Linked DNA regions of Homo sapiens: region 1 is linked to region 2. Evidence: promoter capture Hi-C in 16 types of primary human blood cells and fetal thymus (Javierre and others, 2016). All regions are on one chromosome and are shown on one strand. Each heading gives the region's core, a stretch centred on a gene start or on the middle of the fragment in contact. The rest is flanking DNA. Distances are from core to core; before and after follow the strand shown.

Evidence for each region. Contacts are between HindIII fragments. The CHiCAGO score rates a contact against its expected background, and 5 or more counts as called.
Region 1: a contact is called between the fragment with the promoter of CSNK1G2-AS1 here and the fragment with the promoter of LINGO3 in region 2, in 1 of 17 cell types (neutrophils). The highest score is 5.1, in neutrophils.

Annotation. Positions count from the first base shown.
Region 1 is chr19:1,953,079-1,958,332 of GRCh38, forward strand. It overlaps CSNK1G2-AS1 (CSNK1G2 antisense RNA 1), which reads right to left and starts at 1,471. Exons shown (of 3, transcript NR_033400.1): 1 at 765-1,471; 2 at 308-428. All of the region lies in intron 1 of CSNK1G2 (casein kinase 1 gamma 2), which reads left to right. RefSeq lists an enhancer at 1,852-2,803. The HindIII fragment of the contact is 8,344 bases long and covers 1-3,722 here.
Region 2 is chr19:2,304,884-2,310,187 of GRCh38, forward strand. It overlaps LINGO3 (leucine rich repeat and Ig domain containing 3), which reads right to left and starts at 3,271. Exons shown (of 2, transcript NM_001101391.3): 1 at 3,193-3,271. The HindIII fragment of the contact is 8,822 bases long and covers 1-3,742 here.

The DNA of each region.
Region 1 (5,254 bases), core at 221-2,720, 350 kb before region 2:
ACGCTTCTGGAAGGACCCGTGTCCTCTCAGATGTAGCAGGATTCCGATGGGAGCCACCCCGGGTCCCACTCGCCCCCGGGACCTGCCGTGGGAGCTTTCTTTCCTGGTGGGGTGCCTGACTCTGCCTGCACGTTCCCCCCGCTGTCTGTGGCACCACTTGGGACCGGGGACCCCTGCCCCCCTGGCAAGACCAGGTCAGCTCTGCCCCCGGGCCACGGAGCAGGAAGCAGAGCTGAGGCTGCTGAGGTGGCGCAGGGTTGCTGTGGGGGCCTGTGCGCCATGGGGGCCTGGGTGGGGGTGTTCTCACTTCCCCCGGAGTCTGGAAGGCCGTCTTTGTGATGGATTTGATGCAGATGTGTCCACTTTGCTTTTGTTGATGGCGTCTGAGGCTCTGGAGTCCATGGCAGCCTTGCCTCCGTTTGCATAATCTGAATTTTGGGAAAATTGCCCCTATGTGGACTAGTTGCAGGGACAGTGCCCTCCGCCAAGGCTGCCGGTGGTGTTTGCCTTATGTGTCCGGTGCTGGGTGAGTGCCAGCTTTTCCCTGGTCAGCTCTGCCCGTGGCCCTCACCTGTGGTCTGTGCCATCACCAGGGCGAGGCTGACCTGTGGGACGGGGTCCCTGCACAGCCTCGCCGTCCCCCACATCCCCCCAACAGGGTCTGGTCCCAGCTGCCATTGTGCAGCCTTGCCCCCTCCCCCCGCATCAGGGTCCGGTCCTGGCCGCTGTACCGCGATCACCTGTGGCCCTCCTGTGTTCTTTACCTGGACTCTTGCCTTTGCTGATGGCGACCTGTGACGGCTCAGCTGCGTTCTCAGAGGCCGGCTGTCCTCGTGGGCGTCTCCGGTGCAGTCGGCGCGGTGAGGTTGGCTTCTGCCATGGACGGGGCCTTCTCGTGGTGATGACAGTCGCCCTTGGTCTGGTGTCTGCAGTGCTCCGAGGACCGGCCCTGCCCATCCCTGGCGTTCACTCCTCAGCTTCCTCCCATGGGGTGGGCGGCTTCCCTCCTCTCCCTGATTTGTGGGGTGTTTCTCTTTTGCACCTGATGCGTTAAACCCATTACCGGCCTAGGTCAGCCTGAGGTTGGTTTGTCCTGGCCGCGGCAGCTCCTGCGCCCCTCCATTGTGGAGGGCGCCCTTCCGTCTGCCCTGCGTCACTGGGCTGGGCCTGGCCCCGCTCTGCTGTGGCCCTGGCACTGGAAGTATGTGCTGCCCTGGTGTTCGGGGGCTCTTGGGTCCTGGGGCGCTGCAACCCCTCATTTTCTTTCCTTGGGGTGCAGATGAATTGGGGTGGCAGGGAACCGAGCCCACAGTGGCCAGCCCCTGCGGCCCCAGGTCAGAGGGCAGGGCCGGCCTGGACAGAGCTGCCCAGAACGGTCTGCGGCCGGGTCCACATGAGTCTAGGTGCCTCTGAGGGCACTGGGACGGCGGTGGCCTGCACCTGCCCAGCCCAGTGAGGTCCCTGGCCTCCCTTCAGCTTTGCCCTGGGCTCTGGGCTGAGGGCTGTGTGGTGATGTCAGCCCAGGGACTGTGACATCACTCAGTGGAGACAGTCAGAGAAGGGGGCTCCCGGGGCCCTCCCCAGGGAACTGGCCCTGGGCCCAGACCAGATGGAGGACCCCGAAAAGAACAGGGCAGGTAGCAGCCTGAGGCTAGGGCTGGGGAAGGGGATGGGAGCTGACGGGGAGAGAGCAGCCCCTTGTGGGATGGCTGCAATCCCCTCGTTGGCGCCCGGGAGCCATCCTTGGCGTGTGACCCGGAGCCGGCACTCGCCCCCTGGGACGGAATCGTGGCTGCGTGGGTTGGGTGGAGGCTGGGTGAGGATCAGCGTCCCTTCGTCCCTCCCTGGGGTTGTTGCTTTTCGCTGTGGCCCTCAGGCAACAGGGCAGGCCCCCAACCCCCAGGCCTGCGTGGGCACTGTGGGTGCCCAGCCTTTACGTCCTCGCTTCCTTCCAGGCCCCGGCCTTGTCTGGCTTCCCTTGGGCACCCCCTGGGGTTCGGAGAGCCCCAGAAGAGGCCGGGCTCTTCCTCCTTGGTGATGGACGGGTGCTGGGCCCTGACCGAGTGGTGACCGCCTCCAGGGAGTGATCTGCGCCCTCGGAAGCTGCTGAGTCTTGGAGTGGCGGCTCTTGTTTGTGGGGGCAGGGGGAGCTGGGCACCCGCCCTGTGCCCACGGAACACAGCCCAGGGTGGCGGCCCTGCCTGTCCTCTGACTGCCCTCCTGCTGCTGCTGCTGCTGCTGCGAGGGCCTCAGGCGCAGGCGGTGACTCTCGGGGCCACTCCTGAGGTGGGGGATGTGGGCTAGCGGCCACCGTGGGCGGCAGGTGTGCAAGCAGTGCTCCCGTTTTCCACTGGGCTGCCCTTCACCGGCTGTGGGTCAGCGCCCCCCACTGAGGCTCAGGCTGAGGCGAGGCTCCGCGGGGTGGGCGTGTGCCAGGGTGAGGCTCCGCGGGGTGGGCGTGTGCCTGGGCGAGGCTCCGCGAGTCGGGGGCAGCGCCCAGGTCAGGGGCTTCTCCGTCCATGTCAGGCTTAGGGTGGGTGTGGCTGGGCCCTCCCTCTGCTGTCCGCCCACGACCCCCTCAGAGGGGCTGTCGTGAGATGCTTGGAGGCGGGATCCAGCCCTGAGGGTGCAGGGAGTGCTCAGCGGACCCCCGTGCCACTGCTGTCACCGGAGGAGGCTGCTGCTCGGCTCCGGGCTCCATCTGCAAAGCCGGGTGTGCATCTGTGTGGCTCAGCTCTGCAGGGCACAGTGGGGTTTGCTCCCGGCCGGCCCTGAGGCCGGGCACAGGGAGGCCAGTGCTCATCCAGGGGGCCAGAGAGAAAGTAGCAACCCCAACCTGCCTGGGCCACAACAGCCAAGACCACTGTATCAGAACAGACGCCAGCGGGGCAGCCTGCTCGTTGGCCGGGCGGAGCAGGGTCGGCACACAGCCCGGGCTGGCCTTCACCCCAGCTCCCGACAGCGTTGGGTCCCTGAGTGCAGGGCCTGCCCCTTTCTCATCCTCCTGCCTCCAGGTCATGGGGCAGGGGTGCCGAGAGGCCCTGCGGGAGCCAGGACCTGAGAGGTGATGGTCACCACCCAGACGAGGGGCCGGGGGTCGCACAAGGAGGCTTCCAGGGGGATGCCAGGAGCAGTGGGGCCCTAGACCCAGCAGTGGGTAGACCCAGCAGGGCAGCGCTCACGTCACAGGTTCTGGGGGTTGGGGCTTGTCATCTGTGCAGGTGCAGCTGGGATGGGGATTTGGTGCTTTTTGTTCTGCAAAAGCCAGAACGCATGTAGCTGAGCCAAGATCAGACGGCATGGTGCCTCATGCCTGTGGTCCCAGCTACCTGGGAGGATGAGGCGGGAAAATTGCTTGAACTCGGGAGGCGGAGGTTGTAATGAGCCGAGATCCTGCCACTGCACTCCAGCCTGGGTGATGGAGCTAGATCCTGTCTCAAAAAACAAAAGACCACGCATCCTAGCCGGCAAGGCCACTCTGTACTCAGACCCGGCAGCTGTGGCTGTGGCACAGGCGCTTACCCTGCGGCATTGGCCCTTTCAGTGGTTGGTGTTGACCCTCCACAGAGGGGCTGGGTGGGGTGTGTCCAGTCCCATCTGGGTAGACTGAGTGTTGGGGATGGGAGAGTGTTTAAGGAGGTGGCGGTTACAGACTCCAGCATCGGGACACGGGGCCGTGGGTCATACCCACATCCGTGGGGGCTGTGAGACAGCCGTCCAGAAGCTTCTGTCTCCGGGCCAGGAGGACACCCCAGAGAGCCCCAGGAGGCTCGTTCCGGAATTTAGGGCTCAGCCTCGATGAACCTGGCCAGGCGGCGGTTGATGGGTTAATTCAGTTAATCACACATCACTCAGGGTTTCTCAGCAGAAGGAACTGACCAAGCCAATGGCTCACCTGGAAGAGAGAAGGAGGGAGGAGGAGGGGATTCTGCAGAGGGAAGGCTGGTGGTGGCGCCCCCCTTCGACGGTCGTGCCCTGATGCTGCGTGGCTTAAACGGTGCCACCCGGAGATTGGTGGGCGGGATTGGGCCTCTGGGGTCCCCGGCTGTGGAGAGGGCAAGGCAGGGGCGGCTAGAAAGAAAAGCAACCTGGACGCAGGCCCCACCTCCCTCCAGGCAGCCCCACAGGCCCGAGGGCCACCGTGTCAGGAGGGATAGCCTACACGGAGAGCAGGCCAGTGGCCCTGTGCCCAGGAGGGTGCCTTGCCCAGCCTGGAGGCCCGCAAGGATGAGAAGCAGTGTGTGCCCGGGAGGTCACGTGGGCACCACAGACGAAAGTGGAGCCGGGGGAGAGATGTCCCGGGATGCACCAGGCGCTCGTGCAAACCAAGTGCTGAGCAGAGAGCAGCCTGGGAGAGAAGGGGGCTGCCCCGAGCGGCTTGGGTGGCCGGGCCTGTGGGAGACCTTGGGTTTGCTGTTAGGAGGGACAGTGAGCGCAGGCACCTCTCTCTCCACTTCATGTTTGTCCTCACTGAGGGAGCCGAGCAGATGCCTTTGCCCCTGCAGGTCCCCCATGTCCCCTCGCCCGGGGCGCGCTCCACAGGCTAGGCCACTTTCACAGCTCACCACACAGGCAGAGACTGGAGGGTGCGCAGGACCCCGGGTGACTGCAGACGTGGGCACAGAGGGGCCTCTGAGGGCGTCTGGCGGCATTTGAGCAGCTGCCAGATCTCCCCTGGAAACACTGGGGTGTGTGCTCGGTGGGTGCCGTGTGTGGGGGGTATGTGCTCGGCGGGCGCCGTGTTTGTGGGGTGGGAGCTAGGCGGGCGCCGTTTATGTGGGGTGGGCGCTCGGCGGGCACTGTGTGTGTGGCACGGCCACTGCTTAGGGCCCCCTGGAGCTGCGGGGCACACGGCAGAGCCAGCCTCATGTCACCACGTGCTTCCCCCGTGTGCAGGGAGGGGTTGGAGGTGTGCGCTTGTCTTGTCCGGAAGCCGGGTGTTGGGACGCGTCCTGACGACGGCACTGCCCACATCCTAATGGGACACCTGAGGGACATCGGTGGCTGAGTAAGGGGCCCCTCCCGAGCAGGTCTGGAGGCGTTGGAAGCACAGCGCAGCCTCATGGGGCACCTGCCTGCTCTGCCTGGAATTGAGGGGCGATTGGGACTCCCACTGCCCCCACCAAAGCCTGTGCCCCTGATGTCTGTCCAGAGCACGGCTTCCTTCTCGGTGGTTCCCAGAGGCCGCTGGGCCTCGCTTCGTCCTTTTTGGGCAGCGAGTGTGTATGTTAGGGGAACAGGAGCCCGGCAGGGC
Region 2 (5,304 bases), core at 2,021-4,520:
TTTTCAGTAGAGATGGGGTTTCACCATGTTGGCCAGGCTGGTCTCGAACTCCTGATCTCCAGTGATCTGCCTGCCTCGGCCTTCCAAAATGCTCAGACTACAAGCGTGAGCCACCACACCCAGCCTCATGCCCTGGTTTTACGCCAGTGAGGCCCATTTTGGACTCTGGCCTCCAGAACGGTGCAATAATAAATGTGTGTGGTTCCCAGCCACTGCTGTCACAGCAGCCAGAACTCATCAGGGTCATTGCAGTCTTGAAGAGGGAGGTCGCTCGAGGCCTCCCGGATCTGTGCACCTGCCTTCTGGGGCGTGGAAGGCAGGGGACATTGACCTCTCCTTGGGGTCTGAGATCTGCACCAACCACGGTGCAGGCACCGGCCTTGAGGACCCCCTCCCCAAAACTGTCCCCCACAGCAGGACCTGGGCAATGGAGGCCTCTCTTCCCTGTACCCCCAGCTGTCCTTAGATATGGATCCTGGATTAATGGTCCTGGAAGCTCTTAGCTCAAGGAGAAGGCAGAGTGTGGCTGTGAGTGGCCGGGGTCCCTCCCTAGAACAGAGGTGGCCCTACCCTCTTGGTGCCTGGTGGTGTGGGCAGCTCCTTCCCTCAGCTCCTGGCTAAGCCCCCGGCCCTTCCAATCCGCCTCCTCTATTCTGAGCAGGGCTCTTCCCCTCCCTCTTGCAAGGTTACCTCAAACACATCCCCCTCCAGTCCCCGCCCAGGGCAAGGGATGCTGACATCTCCCTTGGGAAAGGCCCTCCTAGAGGCCGGCCAAACCCAGAGGGGGCAGGAGTGAGAAGTGTGGTAGCGGTCCCCTCTGTTTCCAGGCCCACAGTGACCTCCATCTCCCTCCCTCTGCCCCCCACCACAACCAGGGCGGTGGGAGTAAGGGGAGTGTGCTCTGGATGCCCCGTTTGAGCTTCTAAGACGGATATGGGAGGAGGGGGCCCAGCCCCTCACAGCACGTGGCCCTCCAAGGTCTGCTTTTGGGGACACGCTGCCAGTCCCCCAGGACCCCTGCATCCTCTGCCCTAGATCCAGGCCCTCCCGGGGCTTCATCCATGACAATTCATTAAGCCCTAATTAGCTTCCATCTGCTGTTAGTCCCCGTCAACCCCTCGAGGGGCTGGGGGCCTCCCGACCCACTTTCCTTCCCAGCCTGTACACGGGGGGCCGTGGACTGCCCTCTGCAGGCAGGGCCTCTGGATCTGGAACCAGTTTTGGAGCACCCACTGTCTACACCGGCCACTTCACCCACTAGCCCAGCCCTGACTAGGGGGAATAATAAAGTTCGTTTTGGAGAGAAGGAGACTGAGGGTCAGAGTGGGCCCCAGCTCACTGCACAACTTAGCTGCAGACAGTCAGCATTTGAACCTGGATCTGACGCCAGCTCCTACCCACAAAATCCCAGCTCCCCACTAGAGGGTGAAGGGCGCTCTTTGGAGGCCCGAGATTGACATGTGGTGGTGGGCGGCTTGATGGGGCCCACCCGGGGCCAACTTTGCTCGCAGAGTTCTTCAAGAGGCTCTACCTGGTGACGAGGTAGTGACTCAGGGGGCGCCGGGGAATGACAGTGCTGTGGGAAGAGACATCAAACTGCCTTCTATTCCCACTCAGCAAGGCACCTTCAGGTCCCGGCTTACCCTGGGGGTGGACGGCTGAGGCTGAGGGAGGCCAGGCAGGGCTGCTGCCGTAACCATCGTGACCTGAGCATCTGTTTTATGGTGGCACCACACTGCAGCCGAGGTGGGCAGCATCTCATTTAATCCCATGTGGGGTGGATCTGAGAGAGGGGACGTCATTTGCCGGAAGTCACCGGTGAAGACCAGACAGGCAGGGCAGGGAAGGCTGAGTTGAACCCTCCTAAGCCCCCATCCCACCGCCCGGCTGCCCCCTTCCTGCCACCCCACATCATCGAGATGGGGACAGGAGCTGGGTCTACAGGGGAAGCCCGTGGGTTCTTCCCACTCAGATCCTGTCTCCGACGATGGCTGCTGCTTCGGCTCAGAGAACAGCCAGGGTAAGGCCATGCCGCGGCAGCCCACCCCACACCAGCCTCCTGATAAAGCCAGCACCACCCTCCCTGAACCTGTTTCCAGCCTGCGTCCTCCACCTGACCACTCACACCTCACACCTTCTGCATCCTCTCCAGGCCACTTCCAGGGAGCCCTCCTGGGTTGCTCTGGTTCTCACAGCTCTGTTGTCCCTGAAGGCTCCCCCCAGCCAAGCCCCAGATCGTCCCTCTGCAAATACCACTGCACAGCAGACGCCCGCTCCCCACCCCCGCCGGAGCAAGGGTGTCTGCAGCCTCGCTGCGTCCATGGTTTAGCCAGGGACCGCTTGCTAAAATGCAGCTTCTGGGGCACATCGCCTCAGAAGTTCTGACTCCTCAGAACTGGGGGGGCCGGGACACCGGCACCGTTAGCGCCCCAAGCACACGTTGAGAAACCCAGTTACATGGTGGTCTCCAGCGTAAGGACCCGGGGCTTTTCTTGTGCCCGGACCAAGGCACGAGGTGCTGCTCCCCTAAACTTGTTGAATGGGACTCAGGGCCTCCCCTGGCCAGGCCCCAGAGGCCCGGGAGGTGGCGGCACCCACTCAGGGTGCCCAGGCCCACCATTTCTGGTGCTATTCAGACGCCCCCAGAGCAGGGGGACTCAGCCCTATGCCCCCAGGTCCCTCCCCGCCAGGCCGGGCCGTCAGCTCCAGCGATGGAGCAGGCTCCGGTGTGGACCCCAGATACCCTTTGCGTCTTCCAGCTCCGCACCCCCAGGCTGGACCAGACCCGGCTCGGGGGAGACAGGGCAGGAAGGCGCGGGCTGCAGGCTCTATTCGGACGTTCCCCACACCCCAGACCCAACCAGTGCCCCCTTCATCTCCTCCTGGAGAGGAGCGCATCCTCCCAGCGTCCCCAGTGCCCCGGGGAGATGCCCACCCGATTCCCCGCTCCTTGGCGCCCCAGAGGAGGGGCGGGGGGCCCCAGGGTGGGGAGTTCGCCCCCAAAGTTTCCAGGGGGAGCGTCGGGGGCCTGGCAAGGAGCGATGAGCCCGGGAGGGGTGCGCGGGGCAATTTCCCCCGGCTGAGGATGGGGTCGCGGGTTGGGGGCTTTGGGCGGCAGGGTCGCAGGGTGCAGGTGAGGGGTCCCCAGGTCTGCGGGCGCGCCCCACGCCGGGCCCCGGCACGGCCACTCACCTGGGCGGCTCCGCCGCGGACACGGCGCGGGCTGCGGCGCGGGGGCCGCCCGGAGCCGACACGAGCAGCCGCCGCCGCCGCCGCCGCCGCCGCCGCCGCCTCCCGGGCTCCGCCGTGCGCGCCGCCGCCGCGCGCAACCGCCCGCCGGTCTCCTCGGCGCGCCTGGCGGGGGCGCGCGGGGGCTGCGCTGGGCCGCGTGCGCGGCGGCTGGGGCCGCAGGTGTGAGAGGCCACGTGGGCGCAGGTGCGGGGACACTGGGAGCGCGGGTGCAGAACCCCTCCGTGCGCATCCCGGGCGCTTCGTGTCCGAGGACCTCCTGTCCCCACGGCCTGGGTGAGCCTGCGGAGACGGCCGTGCCGTGCAATAAACGCAGGGGCACCCCAAGTGCAGCAGGTTGTTCCGTGTGGAACCTTCTGGAAGCTACCATCGCCTCCTCTGCCCCCCGTCCCCCACCCCTAGTCCAGGCCGCCACCATCTGCACCTGGACATCTGCCACAGCCCAGCCCAGGCCCATTCCTTATGTGGCCCTCAGAGGAAGCCCCTCAGAGGAAGCTTAGCCACTGGGCTCCAGAACCTGCCGTGATTCCCTATTGCCGTGAGGGTCCCGTCTGCACCCCACCTACCCTGGAATTTCTCTTTCTTTCGTTCTTTCTTTCTTTCTTTCTTTCTTTTTTTTTTTGAGATGGAGTCTTGCTCTGTTGCCCAGGCTGGAGTACAGCGGTGCCATCTTGGCTCACTGCAACCTCCGCCTCCTGGGTTCAAGCGATTCTCCTGCCTCAGCCTCCCAAGTAGCTGGGATTACAGGCACCCGCCACCACGCCCGGCTAATTTTTGTATTTTTATTAGAGACGGATTTTCAGCATGTTGGCCAGGCTGGTCTCAAACCCCTGACCTCGGGTGATCCACCCACCTCGGCCTCCCAAAGTGCTGGGATGACAGGTGTGAGCCACCGCCCGGCTGCCTGCACTGTTTGGTCTGCCGCACCACCTCCTTCCCCCTGGCCTGTCCTCACTCACTCTTTCCCGGGCTCCACCCCCTCAGCCTTCCTCAAACAGGCCAAGTCCCTCCAGTCCCAGGCCTTTGATCTTCGCTGTGCCCAGCTTGGACAGCCTTTCTCTCTGTCCCTCCATCGAGCAGCTTGGAGCCTCTCAGTTTGTCTAATGGGCTTGTTCCCCAATGTGCCTTCCGCCTAGCACACAGCAGCGCACACACCAAGTGCACTGCGAGTGCTCATGGAAAGTTTTTTACCTTTTTTTTTGTCTTTTTTTTTTTTTTTTTTTTTTGAAATGGAGTTTTGCTCTCGTCACCCATTCTGGAGTGCAGTGGTGCAATCTTGGCTCACTGCAACTTCCACCTCCCGGGTTCAGGCGATTCTCCTGTCTCAGTCTCCCAAGTAGCTGGGATTACAGGCGCCCATGACCATGCCTGGCTAATTTTTGTATTTTTAGGGGAGATAGAGTTTCACCATGTTGGCCAGGCTGGTCTCGAACTCCTGACCTCAGGTGATCCACCCGCCTCGGCCTCCCAAAGTGCTGGGATGACAGACGTGAGCTACTATGCCCGGCCCCTCACTGCATCTTCTAAAAGCCACATTTAGCCTCCCTGTCTCACAGATGAGCAAACCAAGGCTGGGAGATGCCATTTGTCCCAAGTGAGGGGTGAGAAGGAGGCCTCGGGAACCTGTGTGTGTAACCTTGCCCTGTCTGCCCCCTTCACCCACTCTGCAGTCCTCCCCACCAGCTGTGTATTCCCAGTGGCTTTGGCGGTGGCCTGGCACTCACGCAGCCACCTGTGACTCAAGCAGGCTCTGTTCCCAGACTGTCGCGTTGGCTGGAGGCCCAGAAACCGCATCCCTGGGAGGCTGCAGGCCAGGCCCCCCACAGGATGCTGTGGGGGGCGGGTATGGTTCAATTCCTGGCCCCAGAGAGGTCCAGAAGGACTTCATGACACCCCATGCTCTCCCCACCAAATGGCCCTGGGCTGCTGTGCTGTGTGACCCCAGTAGGGGAGGTCTCCTTCTCTCTCTGAACGTGTTTCTTTCTCTGTAAAGTGATGCTCCTGATAGCTGGCTCTCAGGGCTCTTGGAGGAAGGTGTTCATTGAGCACCTACTG